Linked DNA regions of Homo sapiens: all the other regions are linked to region 3. Evidence: promoter capture Hi-C in 16 types of primary human blood cells and fetal thymus (Javierre and others, 2016). All regions are on one chromosome and are shown on one strand. The core of a region is centred on a gene start or on the middle of the fragment in contact, and the rest is flanking DNA. Distances in the headings are between cores, read along the strand shown.

Evidence for each region. The method cuts DNA at HindIII sites, captures the fragments that hold promoters and counts their contacts. A CHiCAGO score of 5 or more calls a contact.
Region 1: a contact is called between a fragment that was not itself captured here and the fragment with the promoter of DDX43 in region 3, in 7 of 17 cell types (naive CD8 T cells, non-activated CD4 T cells, total CD4 T cells and 4 more). The highest score is 7.4, in naive CD8 T cells.
Region 2: a fragment that was not itself captured here is called in contact with the fragment with the promoter of DDX43 in region 3 in 2 of 17 cell types (activated CD4 T cells and naive CD8 T cells); the score reaches 6.9 in activated CD4 T cells.

What each region holds. Positions count from the first base shown.
Region 1 is chr6:73,626,353-73,629,554 of GRCh38, forward strand. All of the region lies in intron 6 of SLC17A5 (solute carrier family 17 member 5), which reads right to left. Among named protein-coding and RNA genes, the nearest start is that of SLC17A5, 26 kb to the right of the region's middle. The HindIII fragment of the contact is 6,706 bases long and covers 1-3,202 here.
Region 2 is chr6:73,601,194-73,604,782 of GRCh38, forward strand. All of the region lies in intron 9 of SLC17A5 (solute carrier family 17 member 5), which reads right to left. Among named protein-coding and RNA genes, the nearest start is that of SLC17A5, 51 kb to the right of the region's middle. The HindIII fragment of the contact is 1,241 bases long and covers 1,683-2,923 here.
Region 3 is chr6:73,393,152-73,396,245 of GRCh38, forward strand. It overlaps DDX43 (DEAD-box helicase 43), which reads left to right and starts at 1,677. Exons shown (of 17, transcript NM_018665.3): 1 at 1,677-2,004. The coding sequence starts at 1,755. It overlaps LOC124901538 (small nucleolar RNA U13), which reads right to left and starts at 862; the gene lies at 762-862. It also overlaps a transcript of OOEP not described here. RefSeq lists an enhancer at 1,294-1,794. The HindIII fragment of the contact is 12,904 bases long and covers 1-3,094 here.

The DNA.
Region 1 (3,202 bases), core at 699-3,198, 230 kb after region 3:
GTGAAATGTATGTATTCCAGCTTAGTGTTCATTTGTAATCTAGGTACAACACAACAGTTTTCTGTTCTCCCAATATGAATTGTAAGATCAACTTATAGTATTTCCACATTACAAGTTATATTTCAGGGGGAAAGTCTTCATTTATAAAAACTTTCAAGTTAAAGATGAATTTTCAAATGTTACTAGGAGAAACTATCCGCGTATCTAGCAGACATTTATAAAAAAATCCTTCAAGAGTTTAAGGTAGTGCTGTCCAGTAGAACTTTCCATGATGATGGAAATGTTTTATATGCACATTGTCCACAGGGTAACCAGTAGTTACATGTGGTTATTAAATCTTGTCCTTCTAACAGGTTGATGAAAGAAAATGAAGTGAAACAAAACCCTTGTCATATGTGTGACATATGTGTGACTGAATAACTAAATTTTTTTATTTTTAGATGGAGTCTTGCTCTGTTGCCCAGGCTGGAGTTCAGTGGAGCGATCTCGGCTCACTACAACCTCCGCCTCCTGGGTTCAAGTGATTCTCCCACCTCAGCCTCCCGAGTAGCTGGGATTATAAGCACTCACTGTCATGCCTGGCTAATTTTTGTATTTTGGTAGAGATGGGGGTTTCACTAAGTTGACCAGGCTGGTCTTGAACTCGTGACCTCAGGTGATCCACTCACTTTGGCCTCCCAAAGTGCTGGGATTACAGGCGTGAGCCACCACGCCTGGCCAGAACTAATTTTTTTTTTTTTCTTGAGACGGAGTCTCGCTCTGTCGCCAGGCTGGAGTGCAGTGTCGTGATCTCGGCTCACTGCAACCTCCACCTCCCAGGTTCAAGTGATTCTCTTGCCTCAGCTTCCTGAGTAGCTGGGACTACAGGCGCGTGCCACTATGCCTGGCTAATTTTTGTATTTTTAGTAGAGATGGGATTTCACCATGTTGGCCAGGATGGTCTCTATCTGTTGACCTCGTGATCTGCGTGCCTCAGCCTCCCAAAGTACTGGGATTACAGGTGTGAGCGACCGTGCCTGGCCAAAACTAAATTTTTAATTAAATTAGTTAAATTAAAAATATAACAGCCACGTGGAGCTAGTGGCTACCATACTGGACAACACAAGGTTGGGCTTAAGAAGGTACAAAACAGCTTTTTTTGATGTTCTGGATCTAGAAATTATTCTCTTGCTATTGTTTCTAACACACTACTATCTTGCCAATCAAGCAATGTAAACACATACTCTCGATGGCTTCATCATATCTAATTGTTGGCAAAAAATTAAAAATTATGAAAGCATTTTTTTTTTTTTTTGAGAAGGAATCTCACTCTGTTGCCCAGGCTGGAGTGCAGTGGCACGATCTCAACTCACTGCAGCCTCTGCCTCCCAGGTTCGAGCAATTCTCCTGACTCAGCCTCCTGAGAAGCTGGGATTATAGGCACCTGCTACCACACCCGGCTAATTTTTGTATTTTTAGTAGAGACAGGGTTTCACCACGTTGGCCAGGCTTGTCTAGAACTCCTAACCTCAGGCGATCCACCTGCCTCAAAAGTGCTGGGATTACAGGCGTGAGCCACTGTGCCTGCCACTTTTTTTTTTTTTTTTGAGACAGGGTTTCGCTCTGTCGCACAGGCTGGAGTGCAGAGGCGCGATCACGGCTACTGCAACCTCAACCTCCTGGGCTCTAGTGATCCTCTCACCTCAGCCTCCTGAGTAGCTGAGACTACAGGCATGTGCCACCACACCGGGTAATTTTTAAATTTTTTGTAGAAATGGGGTCTCCCTATGTTGCCCAGGCAGGTCTCTAACCCCTGGGTTCAAGTGATCCTTCCACCTAGGCCTCCCAAAGTGATCGGATTACAGGCATAAGTCACTGCACCTGGTCCTGAAAGTTCCTATTAGAGGGCTACATTATTCTAAAATACCACTGCTGATAAAAGAAAATACATATGCGTGGCTGGGCGTGGTGGCTCACACCTGTAATCCCAGCACTTTGGAGGCCAAGGCAGGCGGATCACTTGAGGCCAGGAGTTCGAGACCAACTTGGCCAACACAGTGAAACCCTGGCTCTACTAAAAATATAAACAATTAGCCGGGAATGGTGATGCGTGCATGTAATCCCAGCTACTCGGGAGGCTGAGGCATGAGAATCGCTTGAACCCGGGAAGCAGAGGTTGCAATGAGCTGAGATAGTGCCACTGCTCTCCAGCTTGGGGAACAGAGGGAGACTCTGTCCTCCCCACCCCCACCCCCCAAAAAGGAAAATACATACAGGCAAAAAAATTTAAAATTGCTCAGATCATTTGCTCAGCCAACATTTTGAAAGCAAATATACTTTGGAGATTTAAATGATAATGGAATTTGTGAAGGAAAAATCAATGAGATCCTGAATCTTGTATTCAGAATGTATCATCGAATTTCTAATAATAGCTCAATCAACTTTTTTTCCATATAAGTTGAAACAGAAAAGGACAAACTATAAAAATTATTTGTCATGAAATGTGTGAAATATAGAGGGTAAGATCACTCGACAAATACTTGAATATATTCTAATATGCCATTTAAAAAAAATTTTTCTTGTCAAATGCAAGTAACAGCAAATTGATTTAGCAAAGTTACATGTAAAAAATGCTCTTAATTTCTGTCTTAATTTGACAACTAAATATTCAAACCAAGGTCCCCATTTGATTTGCTTCGCAATGCTGCAAAATTGTATACTCTTCCTAAAAGGCATAAAGGAGAAGTAAAACAGTTACAAAACATGCTATCTTCAGGCTGGGCATGGTGGCTCATGCCTGTAATCCCAGCACTTTGGAGGCTGAGGCAGGCAGATCACTTGAGTTCACAAGTTCAAGACCAGCCTGGGCAACATGGCAAAACCCTGTCTCTACAAAAAATACAAAAATTAGCCAGGCTTTGTGGTACACACCTGTCGTCCCAACTACTTGGTAGGCTGAGGTGGGAGGATGGCTTGAACCCGGGAGGCAGAGGGAGGCTGCAGTGAGCCAAGATCATGCTACTGCACTCCAGCCTAGGCAACAGAACCAGACTTTGTGTCAAAAAACAAAACAACACACAAACAAAAACAAAAAACAAACCCAGAACCAACCAAACAAGAAAACCCCATGATATCCTTGGAATTAAGAAAAGAAGAAGAAGCCGGGTGTGGTGGCTCACGCTTGTAATCCCAGCACTTTGGGAGGCCGAAGCTGGTAGATCAC
Region 2 (3,589 bases), core at 1,053-3,552, 210 kb after region 3:
CGCCCCGTCTGGGATGTGAGGAGCGCCTCTGCCTGGCCCCGACCCCGTCTGGAAGGTGAGGAGCGTCTCTGCCCAGCCGCCCCGTCTGAGAAGTGAGGAGCCCCTCCGCCCGGCAGCCGCCCCGTCTGAGAAGTGAGGAGCCCCTCTGCCCGGCAGCCACCCCGTCTGGGAAGTGAGGAGCGTCTCCGCCCGGCAGCCGCCCCGTCCGGGAGGGAGGTGGGGGGGTCAGCCCCGCGCCCGGCCAGCCGCCCCGTCCGGGAGGGAGGTGGGGGGGTCAGCACCCCGCCTGGCCAGCCGCCCCGTCCGGGAGGGAGGTGGGGGGGTCAGCCCCCCGCCCGGCCAGCCAACCCGTCCGGGAGGTGAGGGGAGCCTCTGCCCGGCCGCCCCTACTGGGAAGTGAGGAGCCCTGCTGCCCGGCCAGCCGCCCCGTCCGGGAGGGAGGTGGGGGGGGGTCAGCCCCCCGCCCAGCCAGATGCCCCGTCCAGGAGGGAGGTGGGGTGGTCAGCCCCCCGCCCGGCCAGCCGCCCCGTCCGGGAGGTGAGGGGCGCCTCTGCCCAGCCGCCCCTACTGAGAAGTGAGGAGCCCCTCTGCCCGGCCAGCCGCTCCGTCCGGGAGGGAGGTGGGGGGGTCAGCCCCCTGCCCGGCCAGCCGCCCCGTCCGGGAGGTGAGGGGCGCCTCTGCCCGGCCGCCCCTACTGGGAAGTGAGGAGCCCCTCTGCCCGGCCACCACCCCGTCTGGGAGGTGTACCCAACAGCTCATTGAGAACGGGCTGGGATGACAATGGCGGTTTTGTGGAATAGAAAGGGGGGAAAGGTGGGGAAAAGATTGAGAAATCGGATGGTTGCCGTGTCTGTGTAGAAAGAAGTAGACATGGGAGACTTTTCATTTTGTTCTGTACTAAGATACATTCTTCTGCCTTGGGATCCTGTTGATCGGTGACCTTACCCCCAACCCTGTGCTCTCTGAAACATGTGCTGTGTCCACTCAGGGTTAAATGGATTAAGGGCGGTGCAAGATGTGCTTTGTTAAACAGATGCTTGAAGGCAGCATGCTCGTTAAGAATCATCACCACTCCCTAATCTCAAGTACCCAGGGACACAAACACTGCGGAACGCCGCAGGGTCCTCTGCCTAGGAAAACCAGAGACCTTTGTTCACTTGTTTATCTGCCGACCTTCCCTCCACTATTGTCCTATGACCCTGCCAAATCCCCCTCTGTGAGAAACACCCAAGAATGATCAATAAAAAAAATAAAAATTAACAACAACAACAACAACAAAAAACATTAACATTAGAGGAAGGCTGGGCGCGGTGGCTCACGCTTGTAATCCCAGCACTTTGGGAGGCCGAGGCGGGTGGATCACGAGGTCAGGAGATCGAGACCATGCTGGCTAACATGGTGAAACCCCGTCTCTACCAAAAATACAAAAAAATTAGCCGGCCGTGATGGCAGGCGCCTCTAGTCCCAGCTACTCGGGAGGCTGAGGCAGGAGAATGGCGTGAACCTGGGAGGCGGAGCTTGCAGTGAGCAGAGATCGCGCCACTGCACTCCAGCCTGGCCGACAGAGCGAGACTCCGTCTCAAAAAAAAAAAAAAAAAAATTACATACAGGAACACAGCCATGGAAATAACCCCTTTTTATAGTGATATAGGAAAGTTCTGAGATATCATTTTCATACAGAAAGCTTAGCATGTCTAGCTTAAAGTTTTTTAAGTTAAAAAAAATTTCTTTCCTGATTTGAAAATTCAATTGTAATTAATTTTTGAAAATTAATACGAAAAAAGAAAAAAATAATGAAGTAAAATTACCTATAATTCTTCCCCATAGAGATGATCAACATTAACATTTTCATAAATATCCTATTTTTTTCTGTCTGTATATATTTCTAGTATGTTATTATAGACGTGAGATCATATCAAACATAAAATTTGCTTGTTCCATTAATTACATTTTTTTTTTTGAGACGGAGTCTCTGTCGCTCAGGCTGGAGTACAGTGGCGCGATCTCAGCTCATTGCAACCTCCGCCTCCTAGGTTCAAGTGATTCTTCTGCTTCAGCCTCCCAAGTAGCTGGGACTATACACGCATGCCATGTAGGTCAGGCTGGTCTTGAACTCCTGATCTCAGGTGATCCACCTGCCTCAGCCTCCCAAATTGCCAAATTGCTGGGATTACAGGCGTGAGCCACTGCACCTGGCCCGATAATTCATTTTTAAAATTGCTGCCTCTTTTTTTTTTTTTTTTTGAGACAGAGTTTCACTCTTGTTGCCCAGACTGGAGTGCAATGGTGTGATCTTGGCTCATTACAACTTCCACCTCCCCAGTTCAAGTGATTCTCCTTCCTCAGCCTCCTGAGTAGCTGGGATTACAGGCATGCACCACCATACCTGGGTAATTTTGTATTTTTAGTAGAAACGGGGTTTCACCACGTTGGTTAGGCTGGTCTCAAACTCCTGACCTCAGGTGATCCACCTGCCCCAGCCTCCCATAGTGCTGGGATTACAGGAGCGAGCCACTGCGCCTGGCCTAAAATTGCTGTCCCTTTACTAGGATGTTTGTCCTGTATATATTCATGAATTCTGGACTTTGAAGATTGTATCTCTTAGGTATCATTTCACATAATCTTATACCTCCTGTATTTCCTGTACACTGATAGTTTCTAGACTCTAGATCCTAGGGGGTTCATTAGATTTAGGTTTAATGTTTTTGGTAAAAAACAAAAACAAAAACAAAAAACAAAAAAAAAACACTTAAAGGAGAAGGAGGAGTTCAGTTAAAAAAAGTGCTGCTTAACTAATTCAGTTATGTATAAAGATCACAAAGTTTTATGTTCAAAACTTGTGCATACACACAGCACTATAACAAAACCATGAAGTACAGATCTTTTTGGCTCATCCCCTTTAGGGGTGTATCTAAATTAACCAAGCTTGGCAGAGCCTCTCTTTTTTTTTTTTCTTTTTAAACCATTAACACCTTGGCAGTAAGAGGAGTCAACTGCAATGTTGCCAGCCTTTCCAGTGACAGATATTAAGTGCAGACGAATGCCATGAAATTCTAAATGTCAGCAACAAGAAGCTCATTCAAGTACTTATATTTCACTTGGCCAGGACAGGCCATGAAAGATTGATGACCACTTGGAAGAAAACAAGTTGTATGGACTCAGTCTGGATTCTGTGCTGTTGGAGTACTATTGGAATTAATAGCTGAAAATCTATCTAATTCCCATGAATTCGGGCAACAAAATTACCATAGAAAAATCTCTATTTTGGGGCCGGGTGTGGTGGTGCATGCCTGTAATCCCAGCATTTTGGGAGGCTGAGGTGGGAGAATTGCTTGAGCCCAGGAGTTTGAGACTAGCCTGGGCAACATGGTGAAACCCTCTCTCTACAAAAACTAAAAAAACACACAAAATTAGCTGGGTGTGTTGGCTCAGGCTGTAGACCCGCTCGCTACTCAGGAGGCTGAGGTGGAGGATTGCAGGAGGATTGCTTGCGACTGCAGTGAGCCGTGGTCTTGCTGCTGTACTCCAGCCTGGGTGACAGGGTGTGACTCTGCCTCAAAAGATAATAAATACATTGATAACATAAAAT
Region 3 (3,094 bases), core at 427-2,926:
CCAGACTGGAGTGCAGTGACACCATTTCGGCACTTCGGCTCACTGTAGCCTCAACCTCCCTGGCTCAGTGATCCTCCCACCTCAGCCTCCTGAGTAGCTGGGACTACAGCCTGTACCACCACACCCGGCAGGGTCTCACTATGTTACCCAGACTGATGTTGAACCTTGGGGCTCAAGAGATCCTCCGCCTAGGCCTCCTAAAGTGTTGAGATTACAGGTATGAGTTATCCCTGCTGGCCTAAACTGAAATTTGTTCAGATAATTCAAAGATCCTAATCAAAGGAGTGCACTTGCAGCTGGCTTGAAGCCCTGGAGTAGTAGTATGTCCAGCCACAGAGCCAGGCTGCAGTGACGGTAATGCTTCAGGAATCTATTCAATTTATTTCCTTAGCTCTAAAATTATGGCAGGCCAGGCACTGTGGCTCATACCTGTAATCCCTCAACTGTGTGAGGCCAAGGCAGGAGGAGTTGGATACCAGCCCGGGCAACATAGGGAGGTCTTGTCTTTACAAAATAATTAGCCTGGCATGGTGGTGCACACCTGTAGTCCCAACTATTCGGGAGGCTGTGGTGGGAGTATCACTTGAGTCCAACAGGTCGAATCTGCAGTGAGTGATCGCACCACTGCACTCCAGCCTAGGCGACAGAGGTCAAAAACAAAACAAAAGAAAACAAACAAAAAAAACATAGCAAACATCCAGAAGACTGTGTAGAGCAATGAATGTCTCTCAAGCCAGTGATCTTTTTCTCTTCATTTTTCACATCAGGTGGGTAGTGTGCCCACTTCGTAACAAGGTTTGAGGGAGGCACATTTGACACAAGAGCATGAAAACCCAATCACACTTATGACTTACAAAAGGATCAAGTCAGTGATCTTTAAGCTGTGGGCCATTAAATACATTTTGTGAGCCGAGTGCAGTGGCTCAGGCCTGTAACCCCAGCACTATGGGAGGTGGAGGTGGGAGGATCACTTGAGTCCAGGAGTTCAAGACCAGCCTTGGGCAACATACTGGGAACTCCCATCTCTATTAAATTTTTTTTTTTTAATTTTGTGGATTACAACCATTTCAAAAACTAAAATAAGCGTAAATGTATCAAAATGCAGCTTACATAGCGAGGATAAATGCTGTTTTGTCAATCTGTTGTTTCAAGTTTTTTATGTGTGGATTGGGTCACCTTGTAACAGTGACTTACCTTTATGGGTCACGGTTGAAAACATTTCCGGTGCAGTGGCTGACTGTAATCCCAGCACTTTGGGAGGCCGAGGCTGGAAGATCACTTGAAGCCAGAAGCCAAGAGTTCAAGACCTGCCTGGGCAACACGGCGACACCCCGTCTCTATTTAAAAAGAAAAAAAAAAGTTTCCAAGGCACTGAGATGCCAGGAACCCGAGGTGTGTGTCCAGTAGGGGAGGGAGCAAATTGGGCGTTTGGAAAAAGTCCCACGCCTGGAAAGGAATACACAGTGGGGGGGTGGGGGGCGGGGCACATCGACTACTTCAAGGCACACTCCCACGGTTCAGAAAACCGATTGGCTAAAACTGGGAAAGTCCCGCCCACAACGCTCACTGGCCAATGGCTGCGTGAAATCAGTGCGAAGTGGGCGGGATAGAGAGCGTGGGCGGGGGGGCTAGCCTCGTGCGGGCTCCTTAAGTAGCGGCTGCGTGGCTTCCCTGGCACGCTACTCTTACGACGTCACGGTCAGGTGGTGCAGAGCTGGACGGCAACGACGTCGGACGCGCCCCTTCTTGGAACAATGTCCCACCACGGAGGAGCTCCCAAGGCCTCTACGTGGGTCGTTGCTAGTCGGCGAAGCTCGACAGTGTCCCGAGCGCCAGAGAGGAGGCCGGCGGAGGAGTTGAATCGAACAGGTCCTGAGGGATATAGTGTCGGCAGAGGTGGTCGCTGGAGAGGCACCTCTAGGCCCCCGGAGGCCGTGGCCGCTGGTCACGAGGAACTGCCGCTGTGTTTTGCTTTGAAGAGCCACTTTGTTGGCGCGGTAATCGGTGAGAATGGGAGTGGCTGGCAGGGCAGGATAGGTGGGGCCAGGGGCGGAGCCTGGGCGAAGGCATTTCCTCCCCACTGCCTCACCTCCAATCAGCTGCCACCTAGTGAGGTTCAGGTCTCTCCCAGAGCTATTTGTAAAACCTGGGGATAGAGTATAATTTAATCTGGCCGGGCGCGTTGGCTCACGCCTGTAATCCCAGTATTTTGGGAGGCCGAGGCGGGCGGATCACCCCAGGTCAGGAATTCGAGACCAGCTTGGCCAACATGGCAAAACCCTGTCTCTACTAAAAATATATATATTAAAAAAAATAGCTGGGCGTGGTGGCGCGCGCCTGTAATCCCAGATACTCCGGAGGCTGAGGCAGGAGAATGGCTTGAACCCGGCGGCAGAAGTTGGCAGTGAGCTGAGATCGCGCCACTGCACTCCAGCCTAGGTGACAGAGCAAGACTCCGTCTCAATTAAAAAAAAAAAAAAAAAGTAATTTAATCCACCTTTTGGTGTTTATACAGACAATGTATTTGGGAGAGCAACTCCTAGAAGACTTATGAAATCTTAGGGCTGAAGAGGGATGCTTAGAACAGGCCTTTTAACAGACAGCTAACCCCAGAATGAAAAACAAAACTTAATCAGTCTTTCTATGAGTACCATTTAGAGCCAGAAATCAAAGAAAAGCTATAAGGTCATTGTAGGGCTGCCTAGAGCAGTTGTATCTTGCTTTTAGTTTCCTTAATTTTTAAAAAGTTAAAAACTTTTCTTACTACATCTTGAGTGTTAACATTCAATTCTGAATTTTTAATTTTTTTCTTTCTTTTGATTTTTTTTTTTTTTGAGGCAGCTCTGTGGCCCCAGCTGGAGTGCAGTGTGGCGTGATCTCGGCTCACTACAACTTCCACCTCCCGGGCTCAAGCGATTCTAGCACCTCAGCCTCCCTAGTAGCTGAAATTACGTGCGCCACCACACCTGGCTAATTTTTGTGTTTTTAGTAAAGATGAGGTTTCACCATATTACCCAGGATGGTCTCGAACTCCTGTGGATCCACCCACCTCGGCCTCCCAAAGTGCTGAGATTACAGGCGTAAGCCCGGCCCA